Linked DNA regions of Homo sapiens: regions 1 and 3 are each linked to region 2. The links are contacts of gene promoters, found by promoter capture Hi-C in blood cells and fetal thymus (Javierre and others, 2016). All regions are on one chromosome and are shown on one strand. Each heading gives the region's core, a stretch centred on a gene start or on the middle of the fragment in contact. The rest is flanking DNA. Distances are from core to core; before and after follow the strand shown.

The links. The method cuts DNA at HindIII sites, captures the fragments that hold promoters and counts their contacts. A CHiCAGO score of 5 or more calls a contact.
Region 1: a fragment that was not itself captured here is called in contact with the fragment with the promoter of KIF14 in region 2 in 17 of 17 cell types (naive CD4 T cells, total CD4 T cells, activated CD4 T cells and 14 more); the score reaches 22.2 in naive CD4 T cells.
Region 3: a contact is called between a fragment that was not itself captured here and the fragment with the promoter of KIF14 in region 2, in 11 of 17 cell types (M2 macrophages, M0 macrophages, total CD4 T cells and 8 more). The highest score is 13.0, in M2 macrophages.

The regions. Positions count from the first base shown.
Region 1 is chr1:200,804,725-200,808,615 of GRCh38, reverse strand. CAMSAP2 (calmodulin regulated spectrin associated protein family member 2) reads right to left here. Exons shown (of 17, transcript NM_203459.4): 3 at 1,079-1,240. Among named protein-coding and RNA genes, the nearest start is that of GPR25, 66 kb to the left of the region's middle. The HindIII fragment of the contact is 1,926 bases long and covers 932-2,857 here.
Region 2 is chr1:200,619,135-200,622,874 of GRCh38, reverse strand. It overlaps KIF14 (kinesin family member 14), which reads left to right and starts at 2,124. Exons shown (of 30, transcript NM_014875.3): 1 at 2,124-2,464. RefSeq lists a silencer at 2,037-2,186 and an enhancer at 2,355-2,856. The HindIII fragment of the contact is 3,652 bases long and covers 342-3,740 here.
Region 3 is chr1:200,823,587-200,827,325 of GRCh38, reverse strand. The region is part of intron 4 of CAMSAP2 (calmodulin regulated spectrin associated protein family member 2); the gene reads right to left. Among named protein-coding and RNA genes, the nearest start is that of GPR25, 48 kb to the left of the region's middle. The HindIII fragment of the contact is 5,432 bases long and covers 1-3,739 here.

The DNA.
Region 1 (3,891 bases), core at 645-3,144, 190 kb before region 2:
TCAGGGAAAGATTACTAAAGATGAAGAAATAAAGGAACTCCAGAGGCAAAGTATTAAGCAGTCCTTCTACAATGATACTGATATTATGGATAATGAAGATAGCTGTAATAGTGTTTTTTACATTTAGCTTTTTATTACGAGCTTCATGCCAGCTTTCAAGAAAGGATACCTGGAGATATAACTTCTTTTAAATCCGTTTAGTGCTTGTCTTCAGATAAGGTTTAATTTTCTTTTGGCTGGCAGTTGTAAATGAAAGTGGATCAAGACAAATTAACTACTCAAATTGGCAAAGGGAGTGATAAGCTGACAAATTAAGCATCTTCAAAGCACAAATCACAGCTCCATAAAAATTTCCAAGAAGAGGAATCCACAATCAATAGGATCTTGTGCAACTTGGTCAAGCAAACCTAAGAATCCCCTAACTGGAAATGTAAGAAAATTATTTCATTCTTGAAATGAATTCAAAAAATATTTACTGAACACCCACTGTGTATAGTTCACTATTAGGAGTGTTCTGAATTTTTTCATAATCTGGTATGAACCAGATTAATCATTAAGAGTAATTATAAATATTGGCCAGGCGTGGTGGCTCACGCCTGTAATTGCAGCACTTTGGGAGGCCAAGGTGGGTAGATCACCGTGAGGCCAGGAGTTCCAGACCAGCCTGGCCAACATGGCGAAAACTCGTCTCCACTAAAAACACAAAAATTAGCCGGGTGTGGTGGCAAACGCCTGTAATCCCAGCTACTTGGGAGGCCGAGGCATGAGAATTGCTAGAACCTGAAGGGCGGAGGTTGCAGTGAGCCGAGATCATGCCACTTCACTCCAGCCTGGGTGACAGAGCGAGACTACTTCTCAAAAAAAAAAAAAAAAAAAGAGTAATCATAAATATTGCTAAGTATACAGAAAACTATTTTCATCATTTTAAGCTTTTTTACTAAAAAATTTAAGTGTATTTTACAACTTAAGTTTGCACTTTGATTTGAAACAAAAAGAGTAATGAAGTGGCAATGTATAATTTAGAATTTCACGTTTTCTGGCTATGAGATGCGATTTACTCAAGTGAGTATAATCCTACCTTATTTATCCAGTACATGACAGCGTCCTCAATATCATAGGGCAGATCTGTGGCTTGAAAAAAAGCTGAATACTGCTGAGCACACGCAATTACTTTTTCTATACTGACCATTTCTACAGTATAAGCCATCATGAGGGTATCGATCATGGCCAAATGTGCACTCTGAAAATATAAAACAAGAACAAATAGTTTAAAAATTATATTTAGAAATTGCTTTTTACATATTTTGAAATGTTAATGACATCTCCTAACAAGCAGCAGAATAACTACAGAAGACCAGCCTTAATAAGAAAGCATAAATTGTACATGCTAAAGATGAGCTAACTGACCCAAACTAATTTATTGTTCAAATACTTATTGAGGATCTATATTTAAGATACTCATTATCTTCTACTCCAAAGATGCTTCTTTTCTTGTTTTTCCTATTTTTTATAATGTCATGGTCATTTACTCAGCAATATAACTTACCGACTTCAGAACCATCTTTGACAGTCTTTCCTCATTCTTCTCACCCACATAGTACAAGTTTATAGATTCTCTATCTTTCAAATCTTCCCTCTTCCTCATTCTGATTGTCACAGTTCCAATTCAGACCCAAACATTTCTCACACTTGAACAAGGTAAAAAATTCTTTAACTGGTTTTCCTGCCTCCAACTTCTTCCTCATCTAATTCATCCAGAACAGGACTTCTAGCCTTTGGCACAGATAGATAGATTTGGCATAGATAGATAGATAGATAGATAGATAGATAGATAGATAGATAGATAGATACACACACACACACACACACACAATTATATGGAAGTTCTAAAAAAAACATTACAGTAGTATATGAAGTGCCCCTCCCTCCACCAGTTTCTTCAGTCTGGTATATATTCCTACAAAAAAGTTTAATGCCTATGAAATATGTACACATTTACACTGCTTGGCATTACCAACAATGTTACAACATTGTATTTCTCCAGGGATAATTCTTAGTTGTGGCCACTGGGTCCAAGGGCAACCACAATTTAAGTTTTGATAGATAACCATTAATCTACTCTCTAGAAAGGTTACACCAACTTATCTCCCACCAACGTTATCAGCCTGCCTGTTTCTCCACATTTTTGACAACATTAGATATTATTCACTTTTAAAAATCTGTATCAACATGAAAGTTTAGAAGACCCCACTCTTGTTTGACTTTACAATCCTGATTATCACTGAAGATGAGCATCCTTTTATGTGCTTTAGCAACCATTTGCATTTCTTCTTTGGAAAGCTACCTGCTCAAATCTTTTGCCTATTCTTAACTGATTTGTAAGAGCTCATTATATATTAAGTACTTTTTAACCTTCTGTCATTGAGGTAGCAAATACTTTCCCCTAGTTTTTCTCCAGACTTTCAACTTTAGGGTACCTTTTGTTGCAGAGTTTTAAATATTTACTTGGTAAAATCTGTTAATCTCAGTGTTTTCCTTTATGGCTTTGGAGTTGATAACATGTTTATAAAGGTCTTCTCCAACCCCAAAATATAGAAATATTATTCTCTATTTTTTCCATAACTTTAATTCCATCTGGAATTTACTTTTGACAATGTTATAAACTAGCGGCTGTTTTTTCCAAATCGGAGATTGCATCATATCATTCTCTCATAAAGTCTACCTCATTTTCTACATAACGAAGTCTAAACTCCTTAAAAGAGGTAAAGTTTCTTTCTTTCTTTCTTATTAGCTGCTTTGTTAGTCTAGCCTTAGAATCTACCATTTCCTTCTCCAATCTGCTACCAGTTTTCAAGCTTTTGTGCCCTGGCTTGTTGTCCTCCTAACAATACAGACTAAGTTTTGTCGTTGGTTTGAATGTTACTCTGATTGTGAAGATTTTTCCAGTTCTCTTTCCAATCAAAATGACTCACTCAACCTATCAATGAGTACAGGTTCCTACAGAATATTGTTTCTGTTTGCATTAATTTCTAAATTATCTAAAGTACGGCATCAGCACTGGTATTTTTAAACAGCTTCCCCAGGTGATGCTAATGAGCAGCCAGGGTTGAGAACCACTGATTTCTCTGACATGTGCACAGTCACCTGCATATGACTCTATTTCTCTAGATAGACAGTTGTAGGATATTATCTCAGTTATCTTCCTATTCCCTACATCTAACGTGGTATCTGGCAACTAGCAGGGGCTAAAGAAAGGAAAGGAAAGAAAGAAGCTAGCCTTTTGGTTACTATAAAGACTCAAGAGCTGGGTTACTCTGGAGGTTGAGGAAGTGAATTCTGATCGTTTAGGAGGTGGCAGTTCCAGCTTCTAGAAAACTGAGCAGTATTTATAGGAAAGCTGACGCTTTGTAAGAAGCAGAATGCTTAACACTGGCAATCATAAAACCAACAGTGGCTCCTACTTACTAAGTCTAACTTATGTGCCATATACTGTGCTAAATACTTTATTAGTATATTAACTCTTTCATTTCAAATATTTTTTGAAATAAGCCTGGAGACAATAGATAAAAAACACTTTCTATAATCCTCAAAAGTCTCTAAAGGAAGTATCATTTATGTTTTATATGTGCAGAAACTGAAGTTTAGACAATTATGCAATTTGTCCAAACCTGTGTGCTCTTTCTACCATATCATGCAGTTGGCAGGAGTTAAGTCATTTTGTTGCAAAGCAAAAAAATATGTTTCAGAAATGACAAACATAATATGCAAGAAAGAAAAAGTAGGATCAATAATTATTTCAAATTAAAACCGCATTTTCATATTCAATCTCCTCTAAGAAGTATTTTCCACACTGCTACTGTCCAACTATCCCAGTTCTTCCTTCACACTCAG
Region 2 (3,740 bases), core at 875-3,374:
GTAATCCCAGCACTTTGGGGGGCTGAGGTAGGTGGATCACCTAAGGTCGAGAGTTCGAGACCAGCTTGACCAACATGGAGAAACCCCTTCTCTACTAAAAATACAAAATTAGCTGGGGTTGTGGTGCACGCCTGTAATCCCATCTACTCGGGAGGCTGAGGCAGGAGAATCGCTTGAACCTGGGAGACGGACGTTGCGGTGAGCCAAGATCAAGCCATTGCACTCCAGCCTGGGCAACTAGAGCGAAACTCCGTCTCAAAAAAAAAAAATTTAATCTTAAGAGATCATTAATTAGCATGAGTTAATCATTTTTCTTTAAATCTTACATAATCCAGAAAGCTTCAAACGTGCCAGTTTTACTTCGACTCTTTCCACGTTTTCTTTCTGTTTGTCTCCCTCTGGTGGATTTAAAAAAATACTTGCTTTATTCTATTTATGAGCTTATTTTCCTTTTAAAATTGAAAAAGGTCTTTATGTCTTCTGTCATGTTTAATATATATTTCCAGTTACATTTTATTTTTATTATTTTGAATTATACATATGTTTAAAATTTTTATGTATTTGAGTTTGTCTGTCTTTTCTTTGACATATCTTGCTTTGTTTCTAAATTGAATGATCATTTTCCCATAGATGTGATAACTTTTTTTTTTTTTTTTCTTGAGACGGAGTTTCTCTCTTGTCCCCCAGGCTGGAGTGCAATGGCGCGATCTCGGCTCACTGCAACCTCCGCCTACCCGGTTCACGTGATTCTCCTGCCTCAGCCTCCTGAGTAACGGGGATTACAGGGGCCCGCCACCACGGCTGCCTAATTTTTGTATTTTTAGGAGAGACGGGGTTTCACCATGTTAGCCAGGCTGGTTTTAAACTCCTGACTGCAAGTGATCCGCCTGCCTTGGTCTCCCAAAGTGCTAAGATTACAGGCGTGAGCCACCGCACCTGGCCCTGATAAATATTATATTCTATTTTCTGATAGTTTCCTTATACCTTAATTTTAATTGAGTTTTAGAATGATTTTTAGAGTAAGATTTAGAATGAGTACTTTATCATCTGTTTGGTTGGTCTATATAATTGGAGCTACTTATGGTCTCTATCTCAGTGAATACTTCTTCAATATCTCTGTACTTTTTGCCTGTTTAAAAAACATTGTTGCTTTACAATATCTATTTATCTAGTCTTTCTCATTTATTTGGTTATTTTTCAGAATGTATTTGTAATATTTTTTCAGATTTCAAAATCTTATGGGGGCTGGGCGGCGCAGTGGCTCACGCCTGGCAGCTTACAAGGTCAGGAATTCGAGACCAGCCTGGCCAATATGGTGAAACCCCGTCTCTACTAAAAATACAAAAATTAGCTGGGCGTGGTGGTGCGCGCCTGTAATCCCAGCTACTCCAGAGGCTGAGGCAGGAGAATCGCTTGAACCAGGGAGGCGGAGGTTGCAGGGGCCACTGCACTCCAGCCTGGGCTGCAGAGCGAGACTCCGTCTCAAAAAAGAAAAAAAAAATTAAAAAAAGGGAACTTTTACTGAAACGGAGTTACATTGTACGGCGGCAAGAACCTTCAAGTTCTAGTTATGCCACTGCTAATTGTCTGATCTTTCACAAGTTTAACTCTAAACCTCAGTTCCTCATCTGTAAACGAGGGATAACATTAATATTTATCTCACAAGATTTTCAGGACTGTTTAAAAATTCATATAAGACATTTAGCATATTTCCTACGTGAACGCCTTGCATAGGAAACACTAGAAAAGTTAATTATTATGATTAACTTGGGGGCAAATATCCATTTACAATGTGAAGTCTTCGATGTAATGGCTTCTTTTAGATTAAAGACCGACAAGAGTGTCACTGTCATGCTTTTCGTTTGACACCCACTTCAACGAGGGGCCCGCTGCGCCCGCGACCGCCGCCCCTTCCTCTGGTCGGATTTAAAGGGGGCCAAGCTCCACGCTTTAGCAGAACCCGAGGAGGGGAGGGAGCGTTGCCTGGGAGATGAGGGTGGGGCGAGTCCAGCATTCAGAGACGGCTACCGGAGCCCAACCACCGGCACTTCCGGGGGGCGGGTGGAAGCAAAGGCGCGGCACCCGACGCGACGCCCAGCAGCCAATCAGAAGGCGGGGCGCCCATTCAAATTGCGGCCTTCTGGGGAGCCGGCGCTGGAGGTGGTGAGTGGCGTGGGGACTGTGTCGAGGGGGTCCCCAAGGTGCCGGACCCTGCGGAGGGGCGAAGTTTCGGCACTGGGGAGGGCGTGCGGACGCTTTCCCTACAGGCGACCACTGCTCTGCGGGCGGGTGGTCTTAGCTCCAGTCCCCCATTCAGTTCCTCAGCATTCCAGGTCGGCGGCGAAGGGGTCCCCGAACGAAGGGCGCAAGGCAGCGTCTCTGCTGGGACCGGGAAGCCGGACTTCAGGGCCTCTCGGCCCGTGGGCTTCTCCCCGAGTCTCCCCGAGTCGGTTGGCATTAAGAGGTAATTCTTAGTCATAGCCCCTGGTAATGACTAGCAGAGAAAGAACAGAATCACCGGATGTTTTGGTTTGGATTGTGCTTATTTTCCTTGTATTCCTTCCAGTCCTCTTTAAAATCTGATGGCGAAACTCCTCAAACAGAAACCGTATTGATTTGTGCAAATCGCAAATGGTTTTTAGTTGCAAGAGAATTTCCAGAATCTTCTTTTTGCCTTTAAATTCATTTCATAACAGGAAAATTCTGTATTTTGAGTTGAAACGTTGATGGGAGATGCTTATAAGCTGACGAATTTTTTTTGTAATGACTGTTATTTATGTAAAAATTTAAAAGCCTCATTTAAAAATGAACTTCCATTAATTTGTTCCTCGCTAGCAATAATCTTTGCAATAGTTTGAACCAGTGTCATTTTACAGGTTAGAACCCGGCATGCAAATTTAAAGTCTTGTTTACATCCTTGTAAGGAGTTGGATACAAAGCTGACTAAAAGCCAGGTCTCTTAGCTGTCACTGCTGTTCCCTTTCTTTAAAACGTTAATACCTGATAGATATTGTTGCTGTATATTTACATACACCTCTGTCTAATTTGTTGTCTTACTGCTAAAGGGCAGGTTGTCTGTTTATCTAATCTTGCATGGTTTTTCTCAACACAATTAATTTACAGTACTTATCGTACTTACTGCCTGTGGTACTTGGGAATAATCTGCCTCGTGACACCAATCAATTCAATCTTCTCTATAGGCATTCCTGTATTCAACATACATGGGCCGGACGCGGTGGCTCACGCCTGTAATCCCAGCACTTTGGGAGGCCGAGGCGGGCGGATCACAAGGTCAAGATATCGAGACCATCCTGGCCAACATGGTGAAACCCCGTCTCTACTAAAAATACAAAAATTAGCTGGGCATGGTGGTGGGCGCCTGTAGTCCCAGCTACTTGGGAGGCTAAGGCAGGAGATTTGCTTGAATACAGGAGGAGGAGGTTGCAGCAAGCCAAGGTCGTGCCACTGCACTCCAGCCTGGTGACAGAGCAAGACTCCATCTCAAAAAAAATATTTTTATAAAAATAAAATAAAATAAACCTTCTTATGGAACATTGGCAAAAAAAAAAAATACGTGTAGCAGGTATTTATAAAAATACTTTGCTCCACACTCTGATTTAGGTGCTAGGGTTTCCTTTAGTCCTTCCCATTCCCCACACTGGAAGTACTTGAAAATCTATGTTGGCATGCACTTTTTACATCTTCTAAGTCACTTGACACATTTGGCCTGATATATGGCT
Region 3 (3,739 bases), core at 312-2,811, 210 kb before region 2:
ATTGTGGACTATTCCTAACAGCAGGTGTACAAAGAAGTCTCTTAACGGTTAAAGTTATTCCATATTTCTTGTAAAATATGCAATAATTGGATTTTGTTACTAATTCAGACTGCTCTGGCCTTTCTCTTGGCCCTCCATTGATCTAAACTGGTAACAGCAATCTTCTTGGCGGAAAAAGGAAACCCACAGATTGGCTGTGTGAAGGAAATTTAACTAAAGAGTAAATGTACTAAAAGAACAAATAAATATACTATGCATACTTATATACGTATGCTTCAAAAAGCTCAAATACATAGCATAAGTTCCTTGCTGAAGAATAACGCCATTTCTGAAGTGATCAGCAACTATCCTTTTGGTTTTCAGGGAAGAATTAGGCAAACTGCAACATCAAATCCTGTTTTAAGATGTAAATAACCACGAGGACAAAGGTTTTTTGATTTTTTTTTTCTTTTTATCAGGACCACCAGGCAAGAAACAAAGGGTTTTTTAAAACCCATGGATAACAGGTGAAAAAACTTTTATTAAGTTTCTACCGACAAAGGGGCCAACCTAGGCAGTCCAGATTTTCTGGAATAGTTCTAATTTCAAATATTCCTTTCAATTGTCTTTATAATACATGTTTGGCTCACCCTGAATTTTGGCTAGTTGTTTTAGGACTTGCCATTAATACTCTCCAAATAATACTCTTCCTCTGGGTATCTACAACATTCTGGCAAGGTAGGATAATTCCTGAACTACTTCTAGGTGCTCTCAGGCCGTTCCAGGAGGATATTGGTTTGGTGTGGTCTTTATTGGAGACCTCAAAGAGTTGGGGTCCTTCAGGGAGTTAATCATGGCTGTGACTTGTTACTGCATGACTTGTTAACTTGTTAGATTTAATCTTTTTTTTTTTTTTTGAGACAGTCTCCCTCTGTCACCCAGGGTAGAGGGCAGCGGAGCTATCTCAGCTCACTGCAACCTCTGCCTCCCAGGTTCAAGCAATTCTCCCACCTCAGCCTCCCTAGTAGCTGGGACAACAGGCATGCACCACCATGCTTGGCTAATTTTTGTATTTTTTGGTAGAGACGGGGTTTCACCATGTTGGCCAGGCTGGTCTTGAGCTCCTGACCTCAAGTGAACCTCCCACCTAGGCCTCCCAAAGTGCTGGGATTACAAGTGTGAGCCACCACGCCCAGCCATTAGACTTAATCTCCTAGCTGTTGCAGATCCAAAAGTTATGCCGAATCGCTGATGGAATATAAAATGGTACAAGCTCTTTTGGAGGGGATTTCGTCAACATTTAACAAAACTACATACAGTATGCATTTACCCTTCAATCTAGCAGTCCAACTTCTAGGAAATTTACCTTGAAAATACATATCCAAAATACAAAAGGCCACATATAACAGTATTCTGTGCAGCACAATTTGCAATAGCAAGATACTGGAAACTACTTAAATGCCTACACATAGGTACATAGTTGAAGAAACTATGGCACATATTCACAAGGCAGCACTATGCTGCTTTAAGAAATAATGATTGGCCGGGCACAGTAGCTCACACCTGTAATCCCAGCACTTTGGGAGGCCAAGGCGGGTAGATCACGAGGTCAGGAGGTCGAGACCAGCCTGGCCAACATGGCGAAACCCCGTGTCTACTAAAAAATGCAAAGATTAGCCAGGTGTGGTGGCGCTCGCCTGTAGTACCAGTTACTTGGGAGGCTGAGGCAGAAGAATCGCTTGAACCTGGGAGGCAGAGGTTGCAGTGAGCCGAGATCGCACCATTGCACTCCAGCCTGGGTGGCAGAGCAAGACTCTGTCTCAAAAAAAAAAAAAAAGGAAGAAAGAAAGAAAGAAAGAATGATCTCTAGGGACCGTATGGAGTAATTTCCAGGATATACAGTTACTGAAAAGAGCAAACTGCAAAAGAATAAATATGTTATGTTTTGTGCTAGAAAGGAGGAGAAACAAACATGCACATACGTGCTTGGTCCATTTAGAAGGGCTGGGAGGGAGTACATGTGGAATAAGTAAGGGGTAGAAGAGATAGGGGAGGGATTGATACTTCTCTGAGTATACCATTTATATAGTTCTGATTTTTGGAATTATGTCAATGTTCTACATATTCAAAAAACAAAAGTTAACAAGGATGGTGTCAAAAAAGATCGCTAAAATGGAAAGAATACAGAAACCAATTAACACAAATGTATTTCAAAGGAATAATATAACCACAGTGAAGGCGGGGGCAGAGGGAAACAACTTAAGAACACTGTACTTTGACTATATACTATTAGTCTAAAAAAAAATTGCAAACAAATCTTAAATTCTTCTTAGTAGGTTTTTAAATTTATTTATTTATTTATTTATTTGAGACAGAGTCTCACTCTGTCACCTAGGCTGGAGTACACTGGCACGATCTCGGCTCACTGCAACCTCCGCCTCCCGGGCTCAAGCAATTCTCCTGCCTCAGCCTCCCAAGTAGCTGGGATTACGGGCGCATGCCAACACACCTGGCTAATTTTTGTATTTTTGGTAGAGACGGGGTTTCACCATGTTGGCCAGGCTGGTCTCAAACTTCTGACCTCAAGTGATCCACCCGCCTCGGCCTCCCAAAGTGCGGGGATTATAGGCTTGAGCCACCATGCCCGGCCAGTAGGTTTATTTTTCATATTGGTATGAGTATAGCAATTCTGAAACTACTGTATATGTATTGTAGGACTGAGCAAATAAGTAAAATATATTAATGCTGTTGGAAGCCTGAGTTCTCACTGTGGAAGGGGAAGTCCTGCATGGAATAGGGGAAGCCAGGAAGAACTCTGTGGAGTTTGATTGGAATTGGAGGTTTATATATGAACTCATGTTTGTGTATTTTTAAAATTTTATTTCTGAACTCTGTCTACTGAAATAGGGCCTAGAAGTAATGATATTCCTGTAGCAATGAGCCACTTAGTGCCCAGATTTTACAGTTGCTAAATACTGTTTTCCATAAAAAAGAATTAAGACTTACTGAAGAAATGGCTGATTTTAGGATTATGGCAAGGAAACTACAAAATGAATCTGAAACATCTTGTTGAGCTAGAAATTAAATAAGGAGGGGCAAAAAAAAAAAAAAGAGATGGATGAATGGGGGCATATCAAAAGCACAGGAGTCAGTCTGAAGGGACTCCCGTTGGCCAAATCTAAGACCATTTGAGCATCAAAATAAAGAAATAGCTAATTTTAGGTCAAGGAAAGAACAAGATGAGCCTGGAGCATTCTGTAGTGCCAGAAAGTAAGGAAGTGCTCAAAAAACAAAAGGATTGGGGCATATCCAAGAGATACCAAAGCCAACCCCAAAAAGCTCTCAGTGGCTGATGCTGTAAAATTTTGAGCAACAAAATAAACAACGCAGTATTAGATTGTAACTCAAAGCATAAAATATTAAGTATACATGAGTCCATACTGATATAAATAAATGATTGAATATAAAAAATAAATGGGGAAGAAGACACAAATCTTCCTTACAGAAGAATCCCCAATAGTATATGCAAGTATTCTCCCTTTCAGGGAGTGAGCTTAATTTCCCTCCTTTGGAGTGCAGGATGGAGGTGGTGACCCACTTCCAAAAATAAGAAGGGAAAACCAGTAAATTTATAATGGAGAAACCTGACAAACACTACCTTAACCAAGGGATCATGGTTAATATCACTAGTGTTAAATCATGTTCTTATCATGTACCCCGTGATACAATATATGATATGATATATGACCTCTCTGGTAGT